2 separate regions of the Homo sapiens genome follow, and region 2 is linked to region 1. The links are contacts of gene promoters, found by promoter capture Hi-C in blood cells and fetal thymus (Javierre and others, 2016). All regions are on one chromosome and are shown on one strand. Each heading gives the region's core, a stretch centred on a gene start or on the middle of the fragment in contact. The rest is flanking DNA. Distances are from core to core; before and after follow the strand shown. Region 1 holds the start of PRB4 (proline rich protein BstNI subfamily 4). Region 2 holds the start of KLRC1 (killer cell lectin like receptor C1).

The links. Contacts are between HindIII fragments. The CHiCAGO score rates a contact against its expected background, and 5 or more counts as called.
Region 2: a contact is called between the fragment with the promoter of KLRC1 here and the fragment with the promoter of PRB4 in region 1, in 9 of 17 cell types (M1 macrophages, M0 macrophages, erythroblasts and 6 more). The highest score is 9.3, in M1 macrophages.

The regions. Positions count from the first base shown.
Region 1 is chr12:11,308,801-11,313,839 of GRCh38, forward strand. It overlaps PRB4 (proline rich protein BstNI subfamily 4), which reads right to left and starts at 1,636. Exons shown (of 4, transcript NM_002723.6): 1 at 1,535-1,636; 2 at 570-605; 3 at 1-82. The coding sequence starts at 1,598. The HindIII fragment of the contact is 5,809 bases long and covers 1-2,222 here.
Region 2 is chr12:10,450,896-10,455,840 of GRCh38, forward strand. KLRC1 (killer cell lectin like receptor C1) reads right to left here and starts at 2,482. Exons shown (of 7, transcript NM_002259.5): 1 at 2,303-2,482; 2 at 75-292. The coding sequence starts at 261. The HindIII fragment of the contact is 4,540 bases long and covers 118-4,657 here.

The DNA.
Region 1 (5,039 bases), core at 386-2,885:
GGTGGTCCTTGTGGCTTTCCTGGAGGAGGTGGGGGACGTTGGGGCTGGTTTCCTCCTTGTGGGCGTCGTCCTTCTGGCTTTCCTGGAGGAGGTGGGGGACATACGGCATTCACTGAATAGTTGCCACAAATTTTTACAGTAATGGAGCTAAATGGGGAAATGCACAAAAATGAGACCCAGATACTAATTTCTTTGCATTTTCAGTGAAGCCCTAGAACTCTGGAGTGGAACGCTGGGGGAAAAGGGAGAAGTTGAGGGGCTCTCAGTCTAAGGAGGAGTCAGAATAAGGACACTGGCCATTTGTCTGTCATCTCCCAGGAGGCACTCCTGGCCAGGGGGATGTCAACCCACTCCTGTTGTCATCTAAGCCAAGCATCTCTGACATTCCATTTGGTGGCCTGCTCATGGTCCCCAGAATCAAGTTTGCATGAAGATTGCCTATATCATTAGGGGCAATAACATTAATCAATTCCTGAAAGGAAAGTGTTGATAAGAAGACACTGGAGAAATGATCCATTTGTAAGCAGAAAAAGGGAGTCAAAACAGATTGAGAATGAATTGGGATTTACCTGATATTAGGAAGAGAGATTCTTCCTGGCTGACATCTAGAAGAGAAGCACAGGATGATGGGAAATGTTACATCTCAAATCTTCAAGACTCACAAGTGTTCTACAGGGAAAATTGTCTTCTCACCACACCCCATGCATCCCCTAGGTTAACTCATCAGCCACCATCTGTGAAGGTGCTGGAAGGGGTGGAAGGTGTAAGAGGAGGCAGGGTTGTTACCACACAGAGCAACAGCAATGAGTTCAACATAGAACAGCCCCTTTTTTTCCTCCCTAGCATCCCTCAAGACTTAATGCTTATTTAGTTTATGCATGCCAGGTACTTCAATGTGATATTTTGGTGTTCTTATGCCCTCCATCTCCTGTTAATATATTGCATACATACACATGTTTTCTCAATAGGGGTAACCAGAAGTAATCATTTCAATACAATCTAACCCATTCCACTCCCAGCACATTGAAATACTGCATGTAGGGGAGAGAAAAATTGTAATGATTGGCTCTGATATTTCTACATCTTTAGTTAGACAGAGACAAGTGTTCTATCCAGTTCTGTCTCTGCAGTATCTCTGATGTGTATGTATCTCTATCATCAATGCCGACTGTCTGTACAGCAAGGCCACCATCATCCCTGTGTACTTACTGGGATCAGTATAGGATCTTCACAGCTGGACTTCCCTGAATCTGCCTTGCACTCTCCACTGCAGCCTTCACAGCACAGTTCTATCTCTATAAATTCAAATCTTACCTTCTCATTCCCCTGGAACAAATTCGTTATTGGATTTCATTGTACATTAAATAAATTAGAAGTCCTTATTGTGGAATGAGGGCACAACAGGTCTCCTGATCCTAGGCATGAAAACTCTGCAGCCCCATCTGTGTTTTCATTCTCCTCTCTTCCCCATAATTACCACTGTCACCTCCTAAGTCCCAAGCAGTCACCGCATCTTTTCCCCCTTCTGTTTTACCTTCACTTGAACTCTCAGCTGAGCTCAGGGCCAGCAGGGCCACTGACAGCAGAATCAGCAGCATCTCGCTGGAGGCTCTGGAGTCACTCCCAACTCTGTGCTGGGAGGAACGTGGCAACTCCCTTTATAAAGAGGAGCAAAACAATGGCACCTTTGAGCCCTGGGTGGGCCTCACCACCTCAGAGACTGGGTTCTGCTTTCCTTACTGCAGGTCAGGTGTATCCCTTATTTCTCTTTGGGACTCTAGCCCAGAGGGATGGGGTGGGTTGGATGTTGTTTGTGCCTTATTTCTAAAAGGTACGACTATGACTTGAATAAAGGTTCTAAAGGAACTGTGTCCAAGCTATCAGCACTGTGTCATAATTGAACTTCAGACATCATTAGAGTTTCAATCCTTTTGGTAAGACTATGTCTGCTTTCCACTCTACTATTTATTTCTGTGTAATATTTGTGGGGGCAGTGAAGCTACAGCCAGCAGTGAAGATGGTCAATTTCTCTGGCTCTTTATAGAGCCTATTTCCATCTCTTGTGATGTGTGTGTACAGATAGTATCACAATTGGCTAAAGTTTTGATGCGATAGAGATGGTTTCTGTTACCTGTGTGATGGTGTGAAGACAACACACTCCTGGGCACACATAGATGACAGAAAGCTGCCCCACAGCCTGCTCGGGCTACAACTATTGTTCAAGCTTCTGTGGATCTGACTCAGCTCAGGCAAGGCTTGTTGTTGTGCCACACAGGAAGGCCAAAATTGTGTATTTTAAAGTACCTTTAGGGGTTATTAATGCAAAATGTACACAGAAACCATAAGGAAATTTCTAGATCTGAGAAAACTGAATACATAATTCCTTGCGGGAGCCATGCGATATCATGTTGCCAAAACTTCCTTCATGCTCTTCCCTTTGTCCAGAATATTCTATAATATTCACCCTCTGCTTCATTTCTTTTAATAATTGTATTGAATTCCTACCACTTATAATTAAGTGGCTACAATTCTACATTCAAATAGGATAATCAGATACCCTCGTTAAAGCCTAAATTGCATTATATTGGTATTCTTGGTTTAGTCAGTATTTGTGTTACCTGTTTTCTCAGATTGTTCTTCCACAAAGAGTATTTTTCTATAATATTCTGATATGCATTCCTCCCCACCTTCTTTCTGGTTCTTCTTTGTTCATATTTTATTTTCTGAGTCAAGCCCATTATGTGTATTTTTCTTTATGTATCTGGCTTTTTTCCCCATGAATTTGGTGAGATTTCCTTTATTTAATCTTCTAAGTATTAGGATATAGTACTTACCATCTTTGTTTCATTCTTGTCTGTGTAATTTCATAATACGTGTTGTGTTTCCAAAAAGCCCTATCAGAGACCTGCATTGTTAGCACTTCTTTCAGCTACTGATTCTTCGTTATATCTGATAAATACCTGCTTATCAGTTCATGGAATATACAGGTTACTCAGTATCAACAGCTGCCATTTACCACTTAGACCTTCCATGTGTCTTGTGTAATTGTTCACATTTTGTGCATGGCTGGTATTAATTTGAGAACACCTTGGTTGGAGGTATGATGGAGGTAGAGAGGGTATGTGACAGTAAATCCTAAAGACAGGCCTCTTGAACATTGTGGATGAGTAGATCCTGGGCTTTGCAGATGAGAATCTGGGTGGCCCTTCTGAAGAGTTGCAGGTAATAGTACAAGCAGACTTCCTAATAAAAAAGGCTTTGCTACAGATAACTTTGCCCTTGCAAGGGAACCACGAAGATTGGTATTTTCCCTGACAAAAATATACACGTACTTGAAATGGGAATACAACTGGAGATGAGCAATCCTGCTTAGGTGGCTTAAGTTAGACCATCAGGTAACAAAGGAATGTCAGAGAAAAGGAGCAGCAGAGGCCAGGCTGACATTGCCTGATATTGTCACCAACTGAGGTTGCTGCAGCCTGATGCAAGACCGACTTCCCCTTGGCAGGAAGGTACAGGAAGAGAATGAAAACCCCCCTAAAGATCACTCATTTCAGGCCCTTTCCTGACCTTCTCCAATGTCAGCAATGAGTAAAGTTTATCAGGAAAGCATAAATATCAGCTATGCACTCACCAGACAAAACAAAAAAGAGGTGATGGAAATGCGGAAAGGGACACTCTCTGTGGGTGAGGGTGGGTGGAAGAGAGAAGCAGGACTGCAGCAGGAACTTGGGCACCTAGACGTGAGTGGAAGCCCTGAGCACTCCACTTGCCTTCTAATATCCATGTTCATATTCTCAGGTCCTGAAGGAACAGCCTTCAACATATGAAATTTTAGGAAACACAATTCAGCTCTCATAACAGCTCCCAACCTTTTCTAAGTCAAGTGTTCAGTGGTTCAAAACTCCTCACTCCCTTCAGGCACTGCCCTTTAGCAAATCCAGTTTCCTCCACTTTCAACACTCATCCCAAATACAACCACTTGCATAATATTTACTAGAAGGTGATAGTTCAGGCCATGATGCTCTCTCCTGAAGAAGTTTAATATCCTCAGTGCTCTTGGTAACATTCCTACCCCAGCACATCCCATATCCATTCCCCTCATATCAGTCAGGGTGATCATTGAAAAGTAGGAATTAGATCATAACACTTTTGTGCTTCCAATGCTCTTAGGATTTTCTTCTGCACTTGTAATAAGATCCAAACTTCATGCCTCAGCTCTCTCACACTCACACATCTCTCTCTTTTTGAAGACTTGGAAGCTCTGTGAATGGAACAGAAAGCAAAATCTTCCTCAACTTACTGTGTTCATTGCATAAACCAACCATTCTGGTAATACAGTTGTGTGTGAGAATTCAGATTTGTGTTGACTTTTCTAAAAACTTCGGTTACATTGGTAGGATGGTCATCTTTATATTTTTATTTGATGTTGATGCTCTCTAATATGTATATTTCACAACTATTTGAGCATATTTATATTCTTTCCATTTATCCTAGCAAAGGCTGATTATAATAGAAAACATTTCTTCAGCATTTACTATATGATATTCAATCTTCAGAACCATCATATGAGGGAGATGTGATGATTATTATTATCTTAATTTTGTAGATGAGGTGACTTAGGTGCATGCCTAGGATCATATAAAGGTAGTAAGTGGACTGGAAGGCAGTTAGTTCTCATAGCTGAGTTCTTGCCTATTGTGCTCCACTGGTTACTTGGTCTTCATTCATTTCTTTACAAGAATGTGAAAGGAAAGGAGATTCAGAGAATAAAAACAAGTTTCTCTTACAATATTTTCAAGGTTATGTTTTCCTGAGACATAAACAGCTGAGGTGAGGAAAAATATATTTTCCTGAGTAAACATGTTTGTTTAAAATCATAATCACATTTAAACATCTTCCAGTATTCTGTTTTACCCCTTGGATTTATATAAAGACACTCAGAGGAATTAATTCCTTTTTTTCTAATTACAAAACCCTGCCAATATAGATCCTGTATGTACTTCCTTAATCCATGATACGTGCATTTTTCTTGGGTG
Region 2 (4,945 bases), core at 1,232-3,731, 860 kb before region 1:
CTCTTTCCCCACATTCCTGTACCCCAAGCTGCACATCCTAGACTGTTATATTGAGGATCTTTTAAATGCTTTACCTTTGCAGTGATAGGTTTTGTCATTCCCTTGAAAATCCTGAGAAGCTTTTTGAAGGTTTAATTCCGCATAGGTTATTTCCTGTTCAGTTGCTAAAATGGAGTTTTTATTGCCTTTAGGTTTTCGTTGCTGCCTCTTTGGGTTTGGGGGCAGATTCAGGTCTGAGTAGATTACTCCTTGGTTATCCATCTCTGCAGTGTGTGATGTCAGGGACTGTACTCTATAATAACAGTAGTTAAGAAGTTAATAAATGGTTTATATACAGGATTCCCTAGTGCAATTAAAAGGGTGAGGTGGAGAACGAGTATTGGAGCTCATTTTGCATTAAATAATCTAAAGTTCTTTCTCTGATTTTCTTCAAGCCTAAACACGTTTCTTATGAATATTTGTTTTAAAAAAAGATTTTTAGGCCGGGCGCGGTGGCTCACGCCTGTAATCCCAGCACTTTGGGAGGCCGAGGCATGCCGATCACGAGGTCAGGAGATCGAGACCATCCTGGCTAACACGGTGAAACTCCGTCTCTACTAAAAATACAAAAAGTAGTCGGGCATGATGTCAGGCGCCTGTAGTCCTAGCTACTCGGGAGGCTGAGGCAGGAGAATCTCTTGAACATGGGCGGCAGAGGTTGCAGTGAGCGGAGATTGTGCCACTGCACTCCAGCCTGGGCGACAGAGTGAGACTCCGACTCAAAAAAAAAAGATAAATTTTCTGCATTTGACAAAATATTATTGCTGGGGCAATGAGAAGCAATAAATTACTAAGGAATAAAGAAGTTCAGGAATAAAAATATATTTCTTAAAGTCTGATGTTTTACCTGTGTTAAAAATTAAAATGTTGTATTAGAAAAACTTCTGCACTCATTTTTATGTTAATTTTGAAATCCAGTAATGGTTAAGACTATGTGGTCTGCACATGAGTAATAGTAAAGTTGACATATATATATATAAAAATTTCTTGCACTACATTACTTTTAATTAGTAATTTATACACATTAATGAAAATCAATAGAGGTAATTAAATGGTCTTTTCTTAATGGCTGAAATGTTCTAAGAAATTATTAAAAATTATTTATTAAAAATTATAAAAAATTAAATATTTGTATATGACAGAAAATGCTATGTGACACAGTTAACTTATGCATAACCTAAATAGTATTAGGAACACTACATAAATTGTTAATACTTACAGAAGTATTGGTAATTTAATTAGTAATTGGTAATTTATTTCCTGGCTAAATTATGAACCAAAAAATGATAAATAAAAGTATAGGTAATTCATGTTAAAGCACATTTCATTTAAACTTATAGAATGATTTTATGGTTGTCAAAGTGAGTAAAGGCCACTTTAGTTGTATAAGTACTTGTAAAATTTCAGATAATGTAATTAAATCATTTAGTCAATGGGCTCTGGAGTCAGTGAGATCTAGAATTAATTCTAGCTTTGACACTTATAATGTGCGACCTTTAAAAAGTTATTCTATTTTTAATAACCCAGTTTGTTAATCTAAAATGGGCATAAGAACATATAAAACGTTGCATGTAAAACATTTACCACTCAACCTGGCACTTAAAGTTCTCAATAAGCATTAGCTACTTTAATTATTATTTTAGTCACAATTGTTATGTTACTGTTTCTGATTCATGTCAGTTAAAGCATGGAAAATAAATCTTCAGATAAGTCTCCTATGTCCATGCGCTACATCTTTTTTTGCAATATTTTGATCAATTTTTAAAAAGTATTTTTATTGCTTTGTAATACCTTTAGCATTTTATGTAATCTACCTCATTCTGATTTTTATTAAAAATAAAAACTGCTTTTCTCTAATCTACGTGTCTGAGGAATTGTATTTGGCTTTCATCAATTGATTGATTTATTTTAATAATCTTTAATGGCTAAGCTAAATATAAATTATTATTCAAAGATACATGATGTACTGATTACAAAATACAAAATTAATTGTTCATTATTGTGATGTTAATAGCTTTCCCTTAAACGATATTGATCAACAAACCCACTAGATTTCCACAAACAATAATTTGAAAACTTTAAGAAATCCTTCAACATATTTCATATTTTAGGTTTTTACCCTGAGTTATTCAAATGAAGACAGCAATATTCTACTTTGATTTTATTGTATATTAATTATACCTCCTTTGTATCATATTGAGCACTTGAAATCACCCACTAAATGAGGTAGGCTAGTAGAGAGTTGGAGAGTAGCAATACATACCTTCTGTCCCCAGAAAGTCACACATCCTTTAGTGGAGAGGCCAGGTTAGTCTCATAAAAAGGCCTGCTATAGCTGTGTAATAAAAGGTGAAATTTAAAGGCATAAATCCAAGACAAGAACAAACAATGCCTGCAATCTTCGCAGACTGCCCTGTGAAGGCTCAGAGTGAGTCAAGAGTGGAAAAAGTAGATTTCTCATCAACGTGTTACTAAGGTTTGAACAGGAAATTCTACACATGGGCTATTGTGAAATCAGTTTTATCTCATCACACACCTCCAAAATATAGGATACTTGGTCTATTAAAAGTACAAGGTTGACTTTGAAAGTGTGTCATTTAGTTGGTTCATTTTTCAAGTGCCTATGAGAATTTTTTTTTTTTCTGTCTTGATCACGAACATTGTCAACCCTCACCTTGTTAAGAGTGCCTTTTAGACTAGGTTGCTAAATCTTAACATTGCATACTTCTTTTCTTTATATTATTTTATTATGTCACTTCCATTATAATAGAAAACATTCTAAAACTCATAGTAATATTATCAACTGATATCTACTGATTTTTTCCTTAATTATTCTGAAAAATTACTGCAGTAATTACTCAATTGATTGTAGCTGGCACAAAAAGCATCATTGCCAAAGTTATATTATTAACTTCTCTTAGTTCTTAAATTTTTGCACTTAATTTTTAAAAATAGATTATTTAATCTTCAGATTACCCTTGATAAAAATATCTTGGATAGGTAAAATATTAATCAATTTTGAAATATATTAGCATACCAGAAATTGAAATATTAAATAGCTATTCATTACATTCTTCATTTATTCATCCTCCGCCATAACAAATTATGTCGACTTTCATAGAAATATTTAGTTGTAAATGACAAAAACTGAAGTCAAACTATGTATGGGGAAAAAGTAATTTTAAAATCTTACTAGGAGGAAAGTCAGTAAATTGGCAGAATAGGTGGTCCCCCACACATATGCCCCCACAGCAACAATAATTTTTCAGCCATCCACAGACAAAAGTTCCTTTGAGGGAGTTTGGAATTCAAGTAGGAGTTTGTAAAATGCCAGTGGAACCCAAGACCTAGGAAGGTTGTTTTAGGGAATAGATTTGCATCCAAGTGGCAGACTTACCAACAGTGATTCCATCTCCAGACCTGAAAAGGGACCCATCCTCCTGTGCTTGCCTTCAGCCCCATTTAGGCCTTGGTCATGCTGCCAAAACCATTTGCCCAGGGGCCCAGGAGGAGACTCACACACTAGTGTCTCAGGAGGTAGGCATATCAACTGTAGTCTCAATGTAGACCCTGAAACAGCCCTCTAACTTGGCTTTAACTAGTGTCAGCCACAACTTGAGATCAGTCCTTCACCCACAGAGACTTCCTGGGAGACATATACATCTGTACCTCTGGGGCATGCTTGCTGACCTCTGTCCTACAGAAGATACTAAAATGGCCCTGAATCTCCACTCAAACTCCTCTCAACTGTGACCTGAGTTAATCACAGGAAATTGCTGTGAGACTCAATCATCTTTGTCAGCAGTACAGGCTTGCTGACTTCAGTTCCACGGTAGTTTCTGAAACAGCCTTGAATCTTGACCTTCACCCTTCTCAGCTGTGGACTGTGAGCAGTCTTGCCAGCTCAGGGATACAGAGGGAGGACATGTGCATCCATGTCCCAACTAGGAGACCATTGACCTAGGTTTCACAGCAGATCCTTTAATTGGACAGAAAAGGGGCTTCGACACTTCTCAGCTATGCTAGAGAGCAGTTTGCCCATACAGGGACCTGGAGAGAGACATCATTAGTGCCCCTGCAGGCACAGACCTTAGTTTTATTTCAGATCTTGAAACAATTCTGGATCCAGCTCCAGCCCAACTCAACTACAGTCTGAGGCAAATCTGCCTGCCCACAGACCTGCCAGAAAACACACTCAACCATGACCCCAGAGACAGACATGAAGACACTGGTTTCAGCTATAGACCCCGAGGAAACCTTGTGACTTAGCACTAACTCCTCTGTGCCACAGGTTGAGGAACCCACTCAGAGACCCATGAGCAGCCTTCCCAGCAAACTAGATAAACTCTTCCCCAACTACACACCTAATAATAGACCCACCATTTACAGACCTTGAAGTGGACCCTCATCCCCTCCCCAGCCCTATACAGTATGATTCTAGAGCCAGTTTGGCCCTCTGAGGCACTAAATAGGATACAAGCCTGCTAGAAGCCCTAGTAAAAGGATCATGAACCAAAGATCCCACTCTGGACCCGTAAGCAACCATGTGATCTGGCTGTAACCCCATTCAACCATGATACTGAAGGCAATCTCATCAGCCCAGGACACTAACAGGAGAAGCTTTTAACCTACCGAAACCAGTCTGTAAAGACTGAAAGAGAGTCTGCTCTTTCAAATGCACAGACATCAGTACAAGGATAAACAAATAACAAAGCATCAGACAAATATGACACCACCAAAGGAAACTAATAAAGCTTTAGCAACTGATCCAAATAAATGGAGATCTATAAGTTTCCTTTAAAGTAATTCAAAACAATCATCTTAAAAAATCTCAGTGAGATGCAAAAGAAAAGAGTAAACAAAAAATACAACTAAAACAAAAAATACATGAACAAAATAAAAATTT